2 separate regions of the Homo sapiens genome follow, and region 1 is linked to region 2. Evidence: promoter capture Hi-C in 16 types of primary human blood cells and fetal thymus (Javierre and others, 2016). All regions are on one chromosome and are shown on one strand. Each heading gives the region's core, a stretch centred on a gene start or on the middle of the fragment in contact. The rest is flanking DNA. Distances are from core to core; before and after follow the strand shown. Region 1 overlaps LOC101927182 (a long non-coding RNA gene). Region 2 holds the start of PTPRT-AS1 (PTPRT antisense RNA 1).

Region 1 (3,494 bases), core at 628-3,127, 1.0 Mb after region 2:
AGCACCCTGAACTCTCCTTCCTAGCTCTTGTCACATTTGCAAGTATTCAGTCACTTGTATACTCATCTATATTCTATGCTCCATCATAGTGTTCCTGTTAAAACCTAAGCGAGATCATGAAGTCAAATTAGGTCCTCCTTTGGCTCAGACTCTCTGCTGGCTTCCCCGGTCACTCCAGTAAAGCTGGCCTTCACAGTGGTCCACAAGGCCCTGAACAAGAACACCGCTATCCGTGACTTTCCCCTTACCTTTCAGTTATATTCCAACATTACCTCTGAGGTAGACCTTTTCTGGCTACCCCATTTAAAAAGCCCCTACCCTCTCTACCTCTGGAATTCCTTAGCCCCTTTCCCTGACATATTTTCTTCTTGGTATCTATTCCCAACCAAGCTACTTTAAATATTATTTCTCTTGTTTATTTTCTGTCTTCTCCCACCCAACATCCGGCCTTGGGCAGAGATTCCTGTATCTTTATACACAGCAATATCCCCAGGGCCTAGATTAGGTCCTATCGTAAGTAACTGCTTAATAAATATTCATTGAAAGGATAAATAAATGTCTCCACCTACTACACTGTCAGCTTCATGAAGGGGCCATGGAAAGGATTTAAGCTGGGAAAGAACATATATTTATGCTTCAGAACATGCATAATTCTGTGTCCTCCTGGAAGGTGGGCTGCAGGCAGGAAGTCCAGTGAGGAGGCTGCGGTAAATCCCATACAAAGAAGGCTGAGACCAGAATCACAGCAGAGGCAGTGGGCATGGAGAGGAAAGGACAACTGGAGAGCTGCTCAGGAGGTTGAATCCACAGGGATCCATGAACAATCAGGAAAGAGAGGCATGAATGCTGTCCCCCACCACCCAGATGCCTGGTTTGGCTGATTTGGTAGACAGTGGTAAAATCATTGGTTCAGTCACAGGAAGAGACCAGTCAGGGGCTAGGCCTGGGTAAAAGGATGGGTTTGAAGGAAGCTTGAAAGCAGGGATCCAACGTCACTCTTTGCAACTGAAGCTTGTCTTAAAGTAATGCCATGCTCAGAATGTCTGTGCCTCCTCACTAGGGTCCATATCCCCATTTTTGCCAAACCCAACAGATTTCCTATGAGCAAACAATAAATTATCAGAAAACAAGAGGGATTGTCTCTATCAATCTATACATTTGTTAAAGTAAGAAACCTCAATGATATTGACATGGATTTTGATTTAAATGATTTTGGATTTGATTGAGGGGAGATACATAAGAATAGACCAAATTTTTTCTTTTAAAAAAATAAGCGGGGGTGGGGGCAAGACAAAGAGGCAGGGAAGAGGAGAAATTGGATATACTAGAATGTCAACGTGTTGTAATTAAAACAGTCCATTGCTGATGTAGTGAAAGATTAGAGTTCAGAAACAAACCTAAGTACACATGAAAATAGGAAAACAATGGGCTTCTCAATAAATAGTGTCATGACAACTAGCCAGAAAGTGAGGGAGATTAATGCTGAGTCCCTGCCTCCACAGCACAGCAAAACCAACTCCAAATAGATCAGAAAGCTTAATGTTAAAAATAAATAAATAAATAAAAGCACTAGAAGAAAACAAGACTAAATGCTTTTTTTTTTAACTCTTAGGAAAGAAGATGTCTTCTAAACATAATACCAGAGACAATGCATGGAAAAGTAGAGAAACATAGCTACATAAAAATTTAAAACCTCTTCATGACAATGAACACCATGTATAAAGCCAAAAAAAAAATTAAAACCTGGCAAAAAGTATTGGTAATATATATTATAAAGGGTTAATAGTCTCACTACAAAAACAATTTTTGTAAATTAGACTTTTAGCAACATTGGTAGACTGATCCGTGACAGAGGTCCCTGTCTACCACCGAAAACCCACAAGAGTGTGGGAATTAAAATAATTAATATTTAAAATATATAGGTTCACTCGAAAGACAGGAAAATCTCTAGAGTGAAAATAAATGAAAAGAAAACTCAAAGCCAGAATGGAAAGTGTTTGAACCATGACATCTCCCCCCCAGGAGGTGGGTGCATGGCCCCAATGGTTAGGGACTGGGATTTTAATGCCAACTTTGGGATAGGACATGTGGCCTTAGGTCCCAGTTAGCAAAGTAATGGAACTGAGACCGCTGTAAAATCAGGACCCTAAAAAAATCCCCTCCATGGAAAGGGCTAGAACAACTCTGCCCACTGTTCTGGAAACTGCAAAGAAGCTTGCACCTGCACAGGGACGTGGCTGAAAGCAGAAAGTTTCCCTAAGAAGTCGAAGCCCAAAGCCTATACCATGCAGTGTAGAGTGTAGAGTCGAGGCTTATATATTTGTGTGATGAGAGATTTCAACACTAATAAATTATTATAGGAGGTCATCCCAGGTTGGTGAAGTCCCGAGGGCCCCAGTAAACACAAAAACTTTTTTGAAAGAAGCTTCCACAACCCAGGCACATGGCACTCTGTGGGAGTGGGAAGAGACAGGGGATTCCTGGAGGTAAACTCCGTATCTAAAATTAAATCTATAAGAATAAAATCAACAGGCAATTCAAACACACAATGCACATGGCATTGTGTGTTTGATCTTCACCCTTCATGAAAAGATCTTCACCCTCCACAGTAATGAAAGAAATGCAAATAAAAATGGCCTTTATTCACTTCTCAGACTGATAAAGATTTGAGACATTTACCATGAGCAAAGACACAGGACACATGAGCATTACTTTTTCCCAAAGGTAAACACATAATAACTTTATAGCAGAAAACAGCAAGCTAGAGGTATGGCATGTGGGCACTAGTTTTCTGGCGCAAAGTTACCCCTGCTGGGCTGCCGATTTTTCTGGTTCTTTGTTGGGTCATATTGCTACTCCTCTTCCAGTGGAGAGCACAGGGGTAAGACATTTCCAGTCAATGAGGTTCCCTTTTATGACTGATGGCATCTAACAGACTGCATTTTCTGTTTGTTTGTTGGTTGGTTTGTTGGTTGGTTTTAATAATTTATTGAGGTAAAATTCACATAACATAAAATTAGCCATTTTAAAGTGAACAATTTAGTGGCATTTAGTACATTTACAATGTTGTGCAACCACCACCTCTATCTAGTTCCAAAACATTTCTGTCACTCCAAAATCAAATCCCATACCCACTGAGCAGTCACTCTCCATTTCCACATTCCCCTTCTGTCCCTAGAAATCACCAATTGCTTTGTGTCTCTATGGACTTGTCTATTCTGGGTATTTCGTAAAAATGGAATCATACAATACATGATCTTTGTGTCTGGTTTCTTTGACCTTAGAGTAATGTTTTGGAGGTTCATCCACACTGTAATATGTATCATTTTTTTATTCCTATTATGGCTGAGTAATATTCCATTGTATGGATATGCTACAATTTGTTTATTTGTTCATCTCTTGATGGACATTAAGGCTCTTTCCACCTCTTGGTATTGCAAATAGTCCTGCTATTAACATTTGTGTACAAGTACTTGTATGATACCTGTTTTCAA
Region 2 (3,554 bases), core at 701-3,200:
GCATCTATTTATCCATCCTAATCATCTGTCTGTCTGGGAGCAGAGGCTAAGATTGGACTTGCTATATTCCAAATGCTTTAAATACAATCTCATTTAATCCTCATGACGACTGGTGAGGGGGGTGCTAGCATTACCCCCATGTTCTATATAAGGGAACTGAGGCACAGAGAGGTTATGCAACTTGTCAAGGTCGCATAACTATTAAGTGGCTGACCCAGGATTTCAGCACAACCTGTCTAGCTCCAGGGTCTGTATAACCACTGTAGTGTGAGAAAATGTGATAATTTGATACTGGCTGACCATCAGCCAATTAATAGTCGTCTTTGTTTGCTTCTCATTGTAAAAGCGCAAGTCTGGATCCGAATCCTTGACTGGTAGTTACCTAAGACTGATGTTATTGTTGTGTTTGACTCTTGATTTGAAACACAGGTCTATATCCTGAGATTTATATTAATAAAGCATTGTAATTATGATCCGGATACCCTGGGGATTGCCTTGTACCTCGACTAAGAAGGCACATGCTTACTTCTTGCTCAAGAACAAACAGGGACTGAACTGCTGCGCTGGGAGGATGGGGCTGAGACCAGCTAGCAGGGGCATTTGTCAAAGGTAGCAAAGCCCACTGATTAACCGGGCCAGCTCTGGAGCAAGGCTGCCTAGATGTAAACCTTCATCTGCTGCTTTTGAGCTCTGTAACCTCAGGAAAGTTTCCTACCTTTTCTGAGCCTGTTTCCTCATCCATATAATGGGTTTAACAGGTTCTCAATTTCTTGTCTGCAGTCCTTGGGGCCAAATGTGCTCGGATTTAGATTTATTTAACTTTTAAAGGAAAGCAATATAGTAAATGTACCATATTTATTAATAACATCCCTCAGCAGAGGCTGTGGTAGCACCCTTAAATCAAGCATGTTGATATTTTTGTAGCAAAAAGTATGAATATTAATAGTAAGAAGGAGATAGAAAAAACTATTAGTCAATGTATATCACTTTAACTCAAATCTTAGCACCAAATAAGTCTGTACCAAACTTACGAAAAAATGTTTTGGTTTTCAAAGCTTTTGAGGATTCAGAATTCTTAAATCAGGGTTTGTGGATCTGCACCTGCCCCATAGGTTGATTTTATGGCTTACGTGGAGTAACGTCTTTACCTAGCACATTCCATAGTTCATAGTAAAGTGCTCAGTAATGTTATCTGTTATTATTTGTACATGTACGTTCAAATCATCATTGTTGAGCAGAGGCAAGTATAGCTGGCCGAGAGACCGGTGGTACTGGCTGGACTTTGGCTACCTTGTGGGCATAACTGCTGGATTCTGAGGCTCTGATCTGAAGCCCAGAGTACCTGGCTGCTCTTAGAACCCAGGTCCCCCTCTTCTGACTTGCACCAGCATTTTCACTGGGTTTTGGTTGTTCTGGTAAAGAAAGAAGGAAATAAATGAGAAGAATGCCTTTCCATCCTACCCCTAGGTGGATTCATCCTTTCTGCTGAATCTTTTCTTTTTTATGGCTATAAAATGAGGTGAAAATTGAGAACAATCACCAAAAGAGCATTTTCCTTTAGGCAAGTGTACGTGTGACACCCCATTAACGACAAGTGACATCTTCTTCTATCTAGCGGAAATCAACACAATATTCATGTTAACCAGTCATCGCTGGTGCCCGAAGCGGATGATGACTTGTCAGTTTCCATCCTATCAGTCATTTTCAGGCAAACTGTGTGTGTGGATTCCACATGGACACAGTCGAATGTTCACAACACCACTCATTTCTCTCTAAGTGCCTGATGGGTCCTCTACAACTAGAGCAGAGACGCAGGAGGGTCCCACTGGGGCAGATCAGAGGGCTGGAGATCAGAAGGCTTGTGATGACAGAAGGTGGATGGAAGAGGCAGGCAGACCTAGGCCCTGGTGCCCTGGCCTGCCATTCGCTGGCTGTGAGACTTCAGCTGATGTCCACAAGCCTCAGCTTCCTTGTGCATTGAGCTAATAGTAACTCATTACCTCACCAGGTCATTGTGAGGAGTAAATGAATGATGCATATGAAAGTGATTGATCAGCCCGGAAACTCCAGGAAATGCCAGTCTTGTTATGATGCATTTGCCTTCAGTGGACTTTTGATTTGCCCCATGGAGCCCATTTTCATAACTCGCAGCCGTTCCTCTTATGTCCTGGCACCCTTCTGCATTTAAGTCTCTCAGTGAGGTGTCCACTTATTAGTTCATTTGGAACTTTGCCAGTTTGTGTGTTCAACCGTACATCTGTGTCTTCACCTACCCACCTATCCATCTCTCTCTCCACTGGATCCCTGTTGTTTGCCTGGCTAAGATCTGGGATACAAAGATGAATCAGATAAGGATGAATCTTGCCCTAAAGGAGATCATAGGCTAATGGAGAAATGGACAGGTCAACAGATGAGTGGAGTCAGGTGGCCGTTGTTGCTGTAACTCAGGAGTGGGCTATCGACAATGGGATGCCAGAGGAGACAACTCCGCTCTGTTAAGTGTGGCAGTAGAGGTGGAGGGAAGAGCTAAAGGAAGTCCTCAAAAAGGATATGACAGTTGAACATAGACTTGAAAGGGGGAAGGGCTTACCCAGCAAAAGGAATAGCCTGTGACAGCCTTCCATAATCGGGGCTGAATGTGGAGGTCACTTCTGGCCAGGGGAGAGGGGATTTGGGGGAATTTGTCTTGGCAGATATAAGGGATGGGAGGCTAGCTGGGGCCAGGTGGTAGGAATTCACAAGCACAGACCGCGCATTCTCGATTTTATCCTGATGTCCCTCATTGGGTTGCCAGCATTGAGTGAAGTGTAGGGCAAGAACGTATCAGCCTTTGGTTTGAGTTTTGGAATTTCTTCCTGACATCTGGTAGCGGGGGTGGGCTTGGAGAGGGCGAGGCTGAAGGCAGCGAGGGCAATGAGGAGGCTGCTGCGATGGTTTGAATAACAGCCTAGGAGGGAAGGAGGCAGCATGTGGGGGTGGGGGAATACAAATGCCACAAAGGTATTAGGGGGCTGGTGAATGGGGTTGGTCACTGTTTTCGGTTCGTAGGGCTGTAGTAACAAATTACCATCCATTTGGTGGCTTAAAACAACACAAATTTGTTCTCTCACAGTTCTGGGGTCCACAGTCTGAAATCAAGGTGTCAGCAGGGCTGCACTTCCTTGGAGGCTCTAGGGGACAATCAGTTCCTTGTCTCTTCCAACTTCTGGTGGCTGTCAGCGTTCTTTGTGGCCGCATCATTGCCCTCTCTGCCTTGATCTCCACCTGGTCTGGCCTTCTTTTCCACGTGTCTGTGTCTTTTCCTCTTCTGTTTTTTATAAGGACACTCGTTACTGGATTTAGGGCCCACCTTGGTAAACCAGGATGATCTCATCTCAATACCTTAAATAATTAAATTAAATACCTTAAATTAATTACATCTGCTAAGACCCGTTTTCCAAATAAGGTCAGATTCACACGTTCAAGAGATTAGGAGATGGACTTATCTTCTGGGGGCCACCACTCAACCCACTGCAGCTACCAAAGGGATGGAGCAGTTCCTGTTCTCAGGGTGT

Evidence for each region. The method cuts DNA at HindIII sites, captures the fragments that hold promoters and counts their contacts. A CHiCAGO score of 5 or more calls a contact.
Region 1: a fragment that was not itself captured here is called in contact with the fragment with the promoter of PTPRT-AS1 in region 2 in 1 of 17 cell types (M2 macrophages); the score reaches 6.1 in M2 macrophages.

Annotation. Positions count from the first base shown.
Region 1 is chr20:41,947,600-41,951,093 of GRCh38, reverse strand. The region is part of intron 1 of LOC101927182 (a long non-coding RNA gene); the gene reads right to left. Among named protein-coding and RNA genes, the nearest start is that of CHD6, 330 kb to the right of the region's middle. The HindIII fragment of the contact is 679 bases long and covers 1,538-2,216 here.
Region 2 is chr20:42,967,139-42,970,692 of GRCh38, reverse strand. It overlaps PTPRT-AS1 (PTPRT antisense RNA 1), which reads right to left and starts at 1,950. Exons shown (of 2, transcript NR_149017.1): 1 at 1,032-1,950. All of the region lies in intron 1 of PTPRT (protein tyrosine phosphatase receptor type T), which reads left to right. The HindIII fragment of the contact is 3,440 bases long and covers 1,058-3,554 here.